Regions from separate parts of the Homo sapiens genome. Here region 1 is linked to region 2. Evidence: promoter capture Hi-C in human tissues and cell types (Jung and others, 2019). All regions are on one chromosome and are shown on one strand. The core of a region is centred on a gene start or on the middle of the fragment in contact, and the rest is flanking DNA. Distances in the headings are between cores, read along the strand shown.

Region 1 (6,588 bases), core at 1,057-3,556, 50 kb before region 2:
TCGAACCCATCACAAAGAAGCCAAAAGCCTTGAAAAAAGATTAGATGAATGGCTAATTAGAATAAACAGCATAGAAAAGACCTTCAATGAACTGATGGAGCTGAAAACCATGGCACGAGAACTACGTGATGCATGCACAAGCTTCAGTAGCTGATTCGATCAAGTGGAAGAAAAGGTATCAGTGATTGAAGATCAAATGAATGAAATGAAGCCAGAAGAGAAGTTTAGAAAAAAAAAGAGTAAAAAGAAAGGAACAAAGCCTCCAAGAAATAAGGAACTATGTGAAAAGACCAAATCTATATCTGAATGGTGTACCTGAAAATGACAAGGAGAATGGAACCAAGTTGGAAAACACTCTTCAGGATATTATCCAGGAGAACTTCCCCAACCTAGCAAGGCAGGCCAATATTCAAATTCATGAAATACAGAGAATTCCGCAAAGATACTCCTTGAGATGAGCAACTCCAAGACACATAATTGTCAAATTCACCACAGTTGAAATGAAGGAAAAAATGTTAAGGGCAGCCAGAAAGAAAGGTCTGGTTACCCACAAAGGGAAGCCCATCAGACTAACAGCAGATCTCTCAGCAGAAACTCTACAAGCCAGAATAGAGTGGGGGCCTATATTCAGAATTCTTAAAGAAAAGAATTTTCAACCCAGAATTTCACATCCAGTCAAGCTAAGCTTCATAAGTGAAGGAGAAATAAAATCCTTTACAGACAAGCAAATGCTGAGAGATTTTGTCGCCACTAGGCCTGCCCTACAAGAGCTCCTGAAGGAAGCACTAAACATGGAAAGGAACAACAAGTACCAGCCACTGGAAAAACACGCCAAATTGTAAAAACCATCGATGCTAGGAAGAAACCGCATCAACTAACGAGCAAAATAACCAGCTAACATCATAATGACAGGATCAAATTCACACGTAACAATACCAACCTTAAATTTAAATGGGCTAAATGCTCCAATTAAAAGACACAGACTGGCAAATTGGATAAAGAGTCAAGACCCATCAGTATGCTGTATTCAGGAGACCCATCTCACATGCAGAGACACACATAGGCTCAAAATAAAGGGATGGAGGAAGATCTACCAAGCAAATGGAAAACAAAAAAAAGCAGGGATTGCAATCCTAGTCTCTGATAAAACAGACTGTAAACCAACAAAGATCAAAAGAGACAAAAAAGGCCATTACATAAAGGTAAAGGGCTCAATTCAACATGAAGAGCTAACTATCCTAAATATATATGCACCCAATACAGGAGCATCCAGATTCATAAAGCAAGTCCTTAGAGACCTTCAAAGAGACTTAGACTCCCACACAATAATAATGGGAGACTTTAACACCCCACTGTCAACATTAGACAGATCAACGAGACAGAAGGTTAACAAGGATATTCAGGAATTGAACTCAGCTCTGCATCAAGCAGACCTAATAGACATCTACAGAATTCTCCACCCCAAATCAACAGAATGTACATTCTTTTCAGCACCACATTGCACTTACTCCAAAATTGACCACATAGTTTGAAGTAAAGCACTCCTCAGCAAATGTAAAAGAACAGAAATTATAACAAACTGTCTCTCAAACCACAGCGCAATCAAACTAGAACTCAGGGTTAAGAAGCTCACTCAAAACTTCTCAGCTACATGGAAACTGAACAACCTGCTCCTGAATGACTACTGGGTACATAATGAAACGAAGGTAGAAATAAAGGTGTTCTTTGAAACCAATGAGAACAAAGACACAACATATCAGAATCTCTGGGACACATTTAAAGCAGTGTGTAGAGGGAAATTTATAGCACTAAATACCCACAAGAGAAAGCAGCAAAGATCTAAAATTGACACCCTAACATCACAATTAAAAGAACTAGAGAAGCAGGAGCAAACATATTCAAAAGCTAGCAGAAGGGAAGAAATTACTAAGATCAGAGCAGAACTGAAGGAGATAGAGACACAAAAAACCCTTCAAAAAATCAATGAATCCAGGAGCTGGTTTTTTGAAAAGATCAACAAAATTAATAGACCGCTAGCAAGGCTAATAAAGAAGAAAAGAGAGAAGAATCAAATAGACACAATAAAAAATGATAAAGGGGATATCACCACCAATCCCACACAAATACAAACTACCATCAGAGAATATTATAAACACCTCTACACAAATAAACTAGAAAATCTAGAAGAAATGGATGAATTCCTGCACACATACGCCCTCCCAAGACTAAACCAGGAAGAATTTGAATCCCTGAATAGACCAATAACAGGCTCTGAAATTGAGGCAATAATTAATAGCCTACCAACCAAAAAAGTCCAGGACCAGATGGATTCACAGCTGAATTCTATCAGAGGTACAAACAAGAGCTGGTACCATTCCTTCTGAAACTATTCCAATCAGTAGAAAAAGAGGGAATCCTCCCTAACTCATTTTATGAGGCCAAAATCATCCTGATACCAATGCCTGGCAGACACACCACACAAAAAACAAAATTTTAGGCCAATATCCCTGATGAACATCAATGCAAAAATCCTCAATAAAATACCGGCAAACCGAATCCAGCAGCACATCAAAAAGCTTATCCACCACGATCAAATTGGCTTCATCCCTGGGATGCAAGGCTGGTTCAACACACACAAATCAATAAACGTAATCCATGATATAAACAGAACCAAAGACAAAAACCACATGTTTATCTCAATAGCTGCAGTAAAGGCCTTTGACAAGATTCAACAGCCCTTCATGCTAAAAACTCTCAATAAACGAGGTATTGATGGGACGTATCTCAAAATAATAAGAGCTATTTATGACAAACCCACAGCCAATATCATACTGAATGGGCAAAAACTGGAAGCATTCCCTTTGAAAACTGGCACAAGACAGGCATGCCCTCTCTCACCACTCCTATTCAACATAGTGTTGGAAGTTATGGCCAGGGCAATCAGGCAGGAGAAGGAAATAAAGGGTATTCAATTAGGAAAAGAGGAAGTCAAATTGTCCCTGTTTGCAGATGACATGATTGTATATTTAGAAAACCCCATCATCTCAGCCCAAAATCTCCTTAAGCTGATAAGCAACTTCAGCAAAGTCTCAGGATACAAAATCAATGTGTAAAAATCACAAGCATTCCTCTACACCAATAATAAGCAAACAGAGAGCCAAATCATGAGTGAACTCTCATTCACAATTGCTTCAAAGGGAATAAAAAACCTAGGAATCCAACTTACAAGGGATGTGAAGGACTTTTTCAAGAAGAACTACAAACCACTGCTCAACAAAATAAAAGAGGACACAAACAAATGGAAGAATGTTCCATGCTTATGGATAGGAAGAATCAATATTGTGAAAATGGCCATACTGCCCAAGGTAATTTATAGATTCACTGCCATCCCCATCAAGCTACCAATGTCTTTCTTCACTGAATTGGAAAAAAACAACTTTAAAGTTCATATGGAACCAAAAAAGAGCCTGCATTGCCAAGACAATCCTAAGCCAAAAGAACAAAGCTGGAGGCATCATGCTACCTGACTTCAAACTGCACTACAAGGCTACAGTAACCAAAACAGCAAGGTACTGGTACCAAAGCAGAGATATAGACCAATGGAACAGAACAGAGCCCTCAGAAATAATAACACACATCCACAACCATCTGATCTTTGACAAACCTGACAAAAACAAGAAATGGGGAAAGGATTCCCTATTTAATAAATGGTGCTGAGAAAACTGGCTAGCCATATGTAGAAAGCTGAAACTGGATCCTTTCCTTACACATTATACAAAAATTAATTCAAGATGGATTAAAGACTTAAATGTTAGACCTAAAACCATAAAAACCCTAGAAGAAAACCTAGGCAATACCATTCAGGACATAGACATGGGCAAGGACTTCATGTTTAAAACACCAAAAGCAATGGCAACAAAAGCCAAAATTGACAAATGGGATCTAATTAAACTAAAGAGCTTCTACACAGCAAAAGAAACTACCATCAGAATGAACAGGCAACCTACAGAATGGGAGAAAATTTTTACAATCTACCCATCTGACAAAGGGCTAATATCCAGCATCTACAAATAACTTAAACAAATGTACAAGAAAAAATCAAACAACCCCATCAAAAAGTGGGCAAAGGATATAAACAGACACTTTTCAAAAGAAGACATTTATGCAGCCAACAGACACATGAAAAAATGCTCATCATCACTGGCCATCAGAGAAATGCAAATCAAAACCACAATGAGATACCATCTCACACCAGTTAGAATGGTGATTATTAAAAAGTCAGGAAACAACAGGTGCTGGAGAGGATGTGGAGAAATAGGAACACTTCTACACTGTTGGTGGGACAGTAAACTAGTTCAACCATTGTGGAAGATAGTGTGGTGATTCCTCAAGGATCTTGAACTAGAAATACCATTTGACCCAGCTATCCCATTACTGGTATATAACCAAAGGATTATAAATCATGCTGCTATGAAGACACATGCACTCATATGTTTATTGTGGCACTATTCACAATAGCAAAGACTTGGAACCAACCCAAAAGTCCATCAATGATAGACTGGATTAAGAAAATGTAGCACATATACACCATGGAATACTATGCAGCCATGAAAAAGGATGAGCTCATGTCCTTTCTAGGTACATGGATGAAGCTGGAAACCATCATTCTGAGCGAGCTATCACAAGGACAGAAAACCAAACACCACATGTTCTCACTCATAGGTGGGAATTGAACAATGAGAACACTTGGACACAGGGTGGGGAACATCACACACTGGGGCCTGTCATGGGGTGTGGGGAGGGGAGAGGGAGAGCATTAGGAGATACACCTAATGTAAATGATGAGTTAATGGATGAAGCACACCAACATGGCACATGTATACATATGTAACAAACCTGCACGTTGCACTCGTGTACCCTAAAACTTAAAGTATAACAAAAAAAGAAAGATAAAAAAAGATAAGTCAGGCTGGACATGGTGGCTCGTCTCTGTAATCCCAGTGCTTTGGGAGGCCTAGGCAGGAGGATCACTTGAGGCCCGGTGTTTGAGACCAGCCTGGGCAACATAGCAAGACCCATCTCTACAAAAAAAATTAAAAATTAACAGGGCATGGTGGCAGGCATCCCAGCTACTTGGCAGGCTGAGGTAGGGGAATTGCTTGAGCCTGGAAGTTTGAGGTTCCAGTGAGATGTGATTGCACCTCTGTACTCCGGCCTGGGTGACAGAGTGAAACTCTGCCCTAAACATAAAAATAAAAACAAATAAATCAGAGGTTCTCATTCTCTTGTTTAGAACCCTATAGTAGATTCCTATTGAGATTAGAACAAAATTCAAATTCTGTAGCCTGTGTCTTCAGGTACTGCAAGATGTTCTTTGTCTTCCTTTCAACTTCATATCCCACTTGTCTTAGTTCATTCCAGCTACTGTAACAAAAATACCAGAAATTAGGTGGCTTATTAAAAAAGGAAACTATTATAGTTCTAGAGGCAGGGAAGCCCACAATCAAGGCACTTGTTGGTTCCGTTTTTGGTGAGGGCCTATACCTCATGGATGGTGCCTTCTAGCTGCGTCCTCACATGGCCAAAAGGGCAGGCAGACTCTCTCCTATATAACAGCATCCATCTCATGGATGATGGCTCCACTCTCATGACCTAATCCCCTCCTAAAGGACCCATCTTTAATACTACTGCATTGGGGATTAGGTTTCAACCTATGAAATTTTGAGGGGACACAAAGATTCAGACCATAGCACCACCTCCTTTCTCCTCATTTTTTATGCTCCTGCCATATTGGTCTTCTTCCTGCTCTTCCACAAGCCAAGCTTATTCCTGCCCCAAGAGTTTTGCACTACTGTTACCTTTACCTAAAATCTCCCAAATGCCTGCAAATAATTCAGGTCTCATACATTCTCTTTAGGAGACTTTCATGACCACCCAAGCCTCTTACCACTCCTGGGAGTTACCTTCTACTCTGTTACTTTTTGCAGGACTTATCCCAAGCAACAATTCTCTTTATTGATTTGCTTATCTGTTTTCTTTATTTGTAATATGGGATAATAATAGCACCCAGTTTATTGGGTTTAATGAGGAATAAGATAACAAAATTAAAGTACTTAGCCCAAGTATCTGTCTATATAATAAGTGAGCAAAAACCAGCAGTTATTGCTGCTATCATCATCATCTCCTTCAAGTAAAGTAAAAGGTATAGGGGTTGGGAGAAATAAAATAATCTCTCTGGCTTTTCCAAGCCTTGATTCTGTGATTCTAGAATTTCTCCAGACCAGCCAATCTCTCGACCTCTACTTGGGGCTGAGACAGTGCCCTCTAGAATCCTGCAGATTTGCCACCTTGAGCCCTCCTTTTCAGAGACCAGAGCCAGCCACCTGTCCCTGAAAACTCAATGCTTTCCTTAAAACTGCCCCGCAGAAACACAGACATGGGCATACACACTCACAGGCTCACACCTGCTCTTGGAATCCTGCTTAGCTTTCAAAGGAAGGAAAAAAGTTGTTCATGTTGATATTGATGTTGCTCTTTATCAAATTGTGGCAGTTTATGTTACAGCCCCCGCATGCTCCCCCAGATCCC
Region 2 (6,436 bases), core at 3,572-6,071:
AGGACCTGATAGCGGACTTGCCAAAGTCACTCCACCGGGACACAGCCTGGTGGCCCCACAGAACAGGCAGCCACGGAGACCAGAACCCTGGTGGTTCTTGCCCTCAGGAAGAGAGGTGACCCACCCACCTGCAGCCCAGGGAGCGCCAAAGCGTACAGGGGCAGCTTCCTTGAGCGGTGGCTCTCCAACCTTCGCGGCCCTACAGCCTCAAGCTTACACGCACCCTACTGACTATAGGGTCTCCACAAGCCCGGAGGGCTGGCCCTGCAACGGCAGAGCTGCTGGGTGGAGCTAGTTTCGCTGCCAAAGGCTCCAACTGTCTCCGACCTCTCCTTCCCAACCAGGAGACTTCGGAGAAAGCGCGTCTCTTTATTAAAAGCAGTTTTTCTTTAAATCCCTTTAAGGCCCCTTATTTCTTCTCATTCACACTTCCCTGGGGCCTAACAGAGTAGAAGGGAAACTGTTGGGCAGAAACAGAAAAGTACTCGGGTCCACTCCTCACTCGCGAAGTCCCTATCTATCTCTGTGGGTCCCGGAGGCACAGGGCTGCAAGGGCGCCCGCTAGAGCTGCTCCACGGCTTACCGGATTGCATGCGGAGAAGAAACGGGCCCGGGTTTCAACAGAGGCCCCGTGCTCCGTGAATTTCTAACTCGAACCAGCCGCTGGGATAAATCCGAGAAACGTTGTTTATTGTGCTATTATTAACTTTCCCTTCTCCCCACGCCCCTAGAGGAAATAAAATTCATTCCTGAATATTGGGCCAGGAAAACGTTTCTCTGAAAGGAACCACAACTGCAGGGGACCACCCGGCTGCAGCTCCCAGCTCCCGGCCCTTCGCCCTAGGCTGCCCACTCGCTCCGGCTCCCGACCTCCCCGCTGCCGAAGCAACTGGGTCAGCCTTTCAGACTTAAAACGAAGTCGTTTATTTCATTTTTGCTTTCACATTATGTTCCGATACAATCAAAACTCCTGGACGAACCTCTTGAATAAAGTCCTGTGAATGAGCGGAATCATAGGTCCTGGGCGCCCGAGTATGCGGCGGGTGGACTCCGGATTCAGAGGCGGTGTATAAAACATACGCTGCTTCGGGAACTGCGAGGGGGACGCGGTGGGAGACATCCGGGGACAGAAGGCCTGAGGAGTCTGCCGCTCCAGGCAGGGTCGTTTGGGTCCTCAAACTGGGACTATTCCTGATGCATTTGGAATGCAAAGAAAAAAATCAAACTTCGCTCCTGGGCCGGCGGCCGCGCCTGGCCTAGCAAGATTTCGGCCACATTTCTTACGTTTCCGCCAAAGCTGTGAACACAGGCGAATGCAGTGCTGGTCCCCGGCCTGGCGCAGGAAGGAGCGCAAGGCCGGCTTTGCAAGGAAGCCCTCGCGCCCAGGCCTTTCTATGGTTGCGTTCCCCCAAGTCTCCTGCCTTTCGGAACCTCGCCCTTTGGCACCCCAGACCCCCAACCTCGCAGCTGGGGAAGATGCGGATTTTAGAAAGCTGTTTCAGAAAAATAAAAGTCCCACTTCGACTTTATTAGATTAAAGCAAAATTAAACCTTGACTATTCACACGTATGTTACAGAGGAAGAGGAGGCGTCCGGAAGAAGCTCCTTGGCGTTTCGTGGAGTCACAGAGCACGACGGCATTGACAAGCATCAGAACATCAAGCAGCCTTAGATTTCACGATCACTCCGAATAGAACATAGAAATACGGAAACACAGCCAGTTTCCACTGGGAAGAGTTCTTCGTATACAAATGATATATATTTATATTTTTTAAACCAGTCACCACTAAGGTGAGTCCTTTCTCTGCTAACAAGCAGCCGAGGATACTAAGTATCTTCAGCTAATTAATTTGAGCAGTGTTTTAAGAAGAGCAACACTTGCCAAATTAAAACTACCTTCCCCATCCAAAACAAAACAACAACAACAACAAAACTTTACCCCTTTCCAAACTGAAAAAAAAAAGGTTGGGGGTGTGTAATATATCAGATTTCAGTAGGCAGAAGGATTCAGAGGGGGCTAGGGAGAAAGATTTCAGATTATGTAGTGAAATACAAAGTTTCTTTAAATAAATTGCAGGGAACATGAAGTTGGGGGATAAGAAACAATGACAAGGCAGTCTCTTTCTTGATTACTGCAACTGGAATGGGGGAGGCGAGTTTATTTTTGGAAATGGGAGTGCGCAGAGCTAAGCGAAATTTATTTCTCCTAATAAGGAAATGGACAAAGTTGTCCCACAGCTGGCGCGCACCTTTTTACCCAGATACAGTTAGAGAACATGTAGGAAGTTTCAAGTCGTGCTGCTTTCTCGCCCTCTTAATTTCAGCCTCTTTCTCACTCCCCTTCCTGCCTTCGCCCTCTCCCTGCCTCCCTTCCGGCTACGAGCCAGTCAGAGAGGAAACACCAGGAATCCGGAGAAGGTCGAGTACTTCCAGCCCCCCATCAAGTTTCCCCGCTCCAGCTTGAGGTATGCTCGGTCGCCTTTCTCCATTTGGATTAGGACTCCGTTGCTGGCGGCCTCCCGGGTCACGTCCTGGTCACCAGCGAAGGCTGAAATCACCGGCCACCCGTTTAGCATGAGGCTCACCTGAGAAAGAGAAAGGCCCGCTTCAGAGGCGCAACCTAGGCAGGCACCGAAGCCGCGGTGGAGCGAACCTCCTCCTTGCTTGGCTAACAGCCTGTAAGGCCTGGAAGCACGGAGAGGTGGGGGGTGGGGGGGGCGAATGGAGGAAAAGGGGCTTTGCAGCTTACTGCTGAGGCTCCAGTGGGGCGAAAGACCACACATCTGGGTGACAGGAAGGGCCTGTCCCCAAAACGGGAGTTGCTCTTATTCCAGTTTCTCAAATGAGCGCGCCAAGCGAATCTCGACTGTGCTCTGTGATCCAATTTAATAAACCCATGAGGTGGCTCTAGCGCCCTGAGACCTTTGACCTCTCTCCCGTTTCCCCTCAGCCTCAAAAAACAAACAACAAACAAAAAAAACCCAGCAACTCAGGCTCCTTCTGGCGCTACCGGAAAAACAAAAACGAACAAACAAAAAGCCCCTGATCCCTCCTGGACCCAGCTGCCAGGACACAGTGGAGAAGCCACTGTGATTTGTGATTAGAAGTCTCGCACCGAGCGGCACAATGTATTTCCTCCCCAAACCACGGGCTCAATTCCCTCCCCCATCCAGCCGCGCCCGCCACCGCCTGGTTTTGCCCCTGTGGTGGCACCGTCAGCCAAGGGCCTCGCGCCCTCTCCCCAGCTGTGCGTCCCACCTCTCTCGGCGCCCAAGGGAAACCTGGACATCTTTGGGGACCCGGAGAGCCGGCGAGTGATTGCTGGGACACGGCTGGAGCCGGGAGAGAGTAGCACTACGCCCCCTCCCTCCCTCCTCTCTCTACCCCTCACCCTCCGGGGCTAAATGCTGCTAGCTCAAAAACCCACAGTCCGCACGGGGTGGGGATTGGGGACAAGTGGGAGAAAACGGGGGCCCCGTCCGTGGTGCTGAAGACAAGCACGCAAGCCGCATCGCAGGCTTCTGAGCCGGGGCAAGGGGTAGGGTGTACTGTCGCGGTGCTTCCTGGGGAGTCCGGGAAGGCTTCCCAAGCGGCAGCTGTCTGGGGCGCTAACAACAGCCGTTACAAGGAAGTCCCTGAAATCCAGGGAACCCTTCGGAGAGGCCCGGAAGGCAGAAGCAGAAAATTCTGTCTCTCGGGGGATGGGGCTGGATCCCAAGAGCCAGAGACAGGGAAAGCAGAGGACAGTTGAAGCCACAGAACTGAGAGGCCCCGCTATCTGTCCCTCCAAGCAGCCCGAAGTACATGCAGCCGCCACTTCTGCCTACCACCTCCGGACAGCCCGAGCACCCCTGAGGCCAGTAACCCCCCTACGGGGCCAGGGCCCGGCACGAGGCGTCGGCTGACCTGTATGGTTTGTCTGTTGTAGACTTTTACCACGTGGAAGTTAAAACTGTAGATCCCTTTGCGCGGGGCGATGAAAGTGCTGCGTTCTGAATCAAAGTTGTTCCCAATGTTCACTAGTACCTATAACGAGACGGGAACGAAGGGGAGTGGGCAGGAATCGGTCCCGGACTGTCGTCCCCGCGCCTCCGCAGAGCCCTTGGAGAGGACCGGGCATCGGTCTTCCATCCATCCCTCCTTCACCAGCCCAATCTGCACGCCGCGGGAGGAAGGAACACTCACCTGGTCGAAGTAGATGATCATGGTGCGATTACTCATCTCGGACGGCTCGTGGTTGGTGCTCCTGATGGCAGAGAAAGCCACCTTGGCGCTGCCAGAGCGCACAGAGATGCCCAGGGCAGTGCCCGTGGGGTCGGACGTGGGGTTGGAGTCGCACACCACCAGGCACTTGCCCTCCAGCACGATGGGCTCCGTCTCATTCTGCCCGCGGGCCGGGCCCGCCAGCCACGCAGCCCCCAGCAGCAGCAGCTCCAGGACGCCCAGCATCGCGCCGCCGGCGCCCACCCCGCCCCCCACCCCCAGGGCTGCTCGCGCCAGCCGCCCCCCCCGTCCCAGTCCCGCTCCGAAGCCCCCTCCTCAGCTCCGTGCGCAGCTCCGCCGCCGCCGCTCTGGACACTACACCTCTTCCTCGCACTCCGGGACTAGCGTCCCCTCCGCGACTAGCGTCCCCTCCGCGCTGTGTTCCCGGAGCCCCTCCCGGGCCTCAGGGGTGCCGCGGCTGCCCAGCCGCACTTGGATGCATAGCCGCTGCTGCTCGGTCCCGCTGCTGCCGCCGCCTCCTGCCCGCACCCGCCGCTGCCGCCGCCGCCGCCGCTCTGAATTATTGATGCAGCCGGCGCTGCAGCCGGAGCGGGCGGAGAGCGCGCGCCGGGCACAAAGGCGCGGACCTCGGCCTGGCCCCGCCCCCGCCGCCTCCCGGCCCGCCTCCCTCCGAGGCCCTGCCCCCGCCCCGGCCGAGGCCACGCCCCCCAGCCAATCCTGACGCGCCGCGCTCCCCACCGAGCCAATGGCGGCGCTGTCCGCGCTCGGCCACCTGACCCCGGGCGCCGTTGTTATTAGGCGCGGCGAGGCGGGTGGCGCGCGGCAGCAGGGTTGGGCTCTCGCCGTGAGTCGACGAAGGGAGCGCGGGCGCGCGCCCGCGTCCGCGCACTGAGAGTCGCCTCGGCCGCTCGCTTTCTCGACTCCCGCCTCGCGCCTCGATCCTGTTCCGCCTCCCTCGGCCCTCCTGCCCGCCCCCACTCGTCGGCCCTCAGGTAGGAGGCGGCGCGCCCCGGGGTCGGGAGTGGAATCGCTGGAGGCTGCGAGTCGCCTGCCCGCCTGTGGGCGCGCCCGTTGGGAGGGGAGCGCCCCCCAGCGGGCGCGGGCGCGAGGGCAGCCGGCGCGCTGGGCGAGCCTGGCTCAGGGTCCCGGCGGCCGGGGTGCAGGGCGCGTGCGCGCGCGGCGGGGCGGGGCCTGCGCGGCTCTGGCGGGCGCACGTGGTGCCCGGGAGCTGCTGGGCGGGCACTCACCGCGGGGACTCGGTGCGGAGCCGGGGCGCCGAGTGTCTCCGTGTCCCTCTGCCCCAGCCGGCGGCCGCGATGGTGGAGCTTGGCCTCTCGCTCTCTCCCGCCTCTCCAGCGACTGCTCTGCCGGCCGCGGAGGTCGGATCGAGCGGTCATTCATTCATTTGTTAATTCGTTCACTTATTCAGGGGAGATCATTGAACCCCTACGGAGTACCGGGTACTGGGCCGGGCGCTGAGGACGCGGGGCTGAGCAAAAGCAGCCGAGGCCCACCTTCGTGCCCCTTAAAACCCAGCGTGCGGGGCGGCAACGAGTACTGCTTTTCTGTTTTGCACTTAAAATTTACATTTTGCATCCGTACTTTTTATTTACTGTGCACCCTTACGGCATGCTTTACGCACCCGTACCTGCACCTCCTAGCCTTGAGTGTAGACACCAGATCCTGAGATGGGCGATTTTTCGAGAATAATTTTTACCCTAAGTGGATTTTCGTGCCACGCATGGACTTGGAACTACACACACGTAGTCCAAAACGTGAAAGTCAAAATGCAGCTTTGCCAAGTGGCAGGGAGAAAGGAGAGCTGAGAAGATGAGGAGAGGAAGGGCGCGCTCCAGGCTTTCCAGCCCGGGTGCGGTAGACGTAGCCCTGAAGGATGAACCCAGGCTGGTAGTAGGGCGGCGGGAGGGCGGGGGGACCTGTCAGTCAAGTCCAAAGCAGAAACGCGGCGCCGGATCCCAGTCAGAGGCCGGCTGGAACGCTTCCCACAGGCTCCTGGCGCTCCGGTCCCCACCAGGCGACCTTGATCCTGGCGTGCTCAGCGGAGCCAGCGCAGCGTCGGGAGCTGGAGAGACGCGGGGCGCCGGCTGAGCGCTCCTGCCCTCTGCCTCTGGGCTAGCCTCTGGCCCGGCCTCCCGGCCTCCCCCAGGGTACGCTCTCCCCCAAGAGCGAACACCAGCTTTGGGATCGCCAG

Evidence for each region. Contacts are between HindIII fragments. The study calls those that stand out against the background at their distance.
Region 1: a fragment that was not itself captured here is called in contact with the fragment with the promoter of CBLN1 in region 2 in 2 of the 25 tissues and cell types used here (H1 embryonic stem cells and aorta).

What each region holds. Positions count from the first base shown.
Region 1 is chr16:49,229,289-49,235,876 of GRCh38, forward strand. No RefSeq gene overlaps it. Among named protein-coding and RNA genes, the nearest start is that of CBLN1, 49 kb to the right of the region's middle. The HindIII fragment of the contact is 3,786 bases long and covers 414-4,199 here.
Region 2 is chr16:49,277,017-49,283,452 of GRCh38, forward strand. CBLN1 (cerebellin 1 precursor) reads right to left here and starts at 4,822. Exons shown (of 3, transcript NM_004352.4): 1 at 4,186-4,822; 2 at 3,907-4,026; 3 at 901-2,585. The coding sequence starts at 4,449. The coding sequence ends at 2,388. It overlaps SYNAGE (synapse stability regulating cerebellar lncRNA), which reads left to right and starts at 5,046. Exons shown (of 4, transcript XR_933530.4): 1 at 5,046-5,216. RefSeq lists enhancers at 797-1,323, 1,324-1,848, 3,926-4,543 and silencers at 4,896-5,005, 5,376-5,475. The HindIII fragment of the contact is 18,550 bases long and covers 1-6,436 here.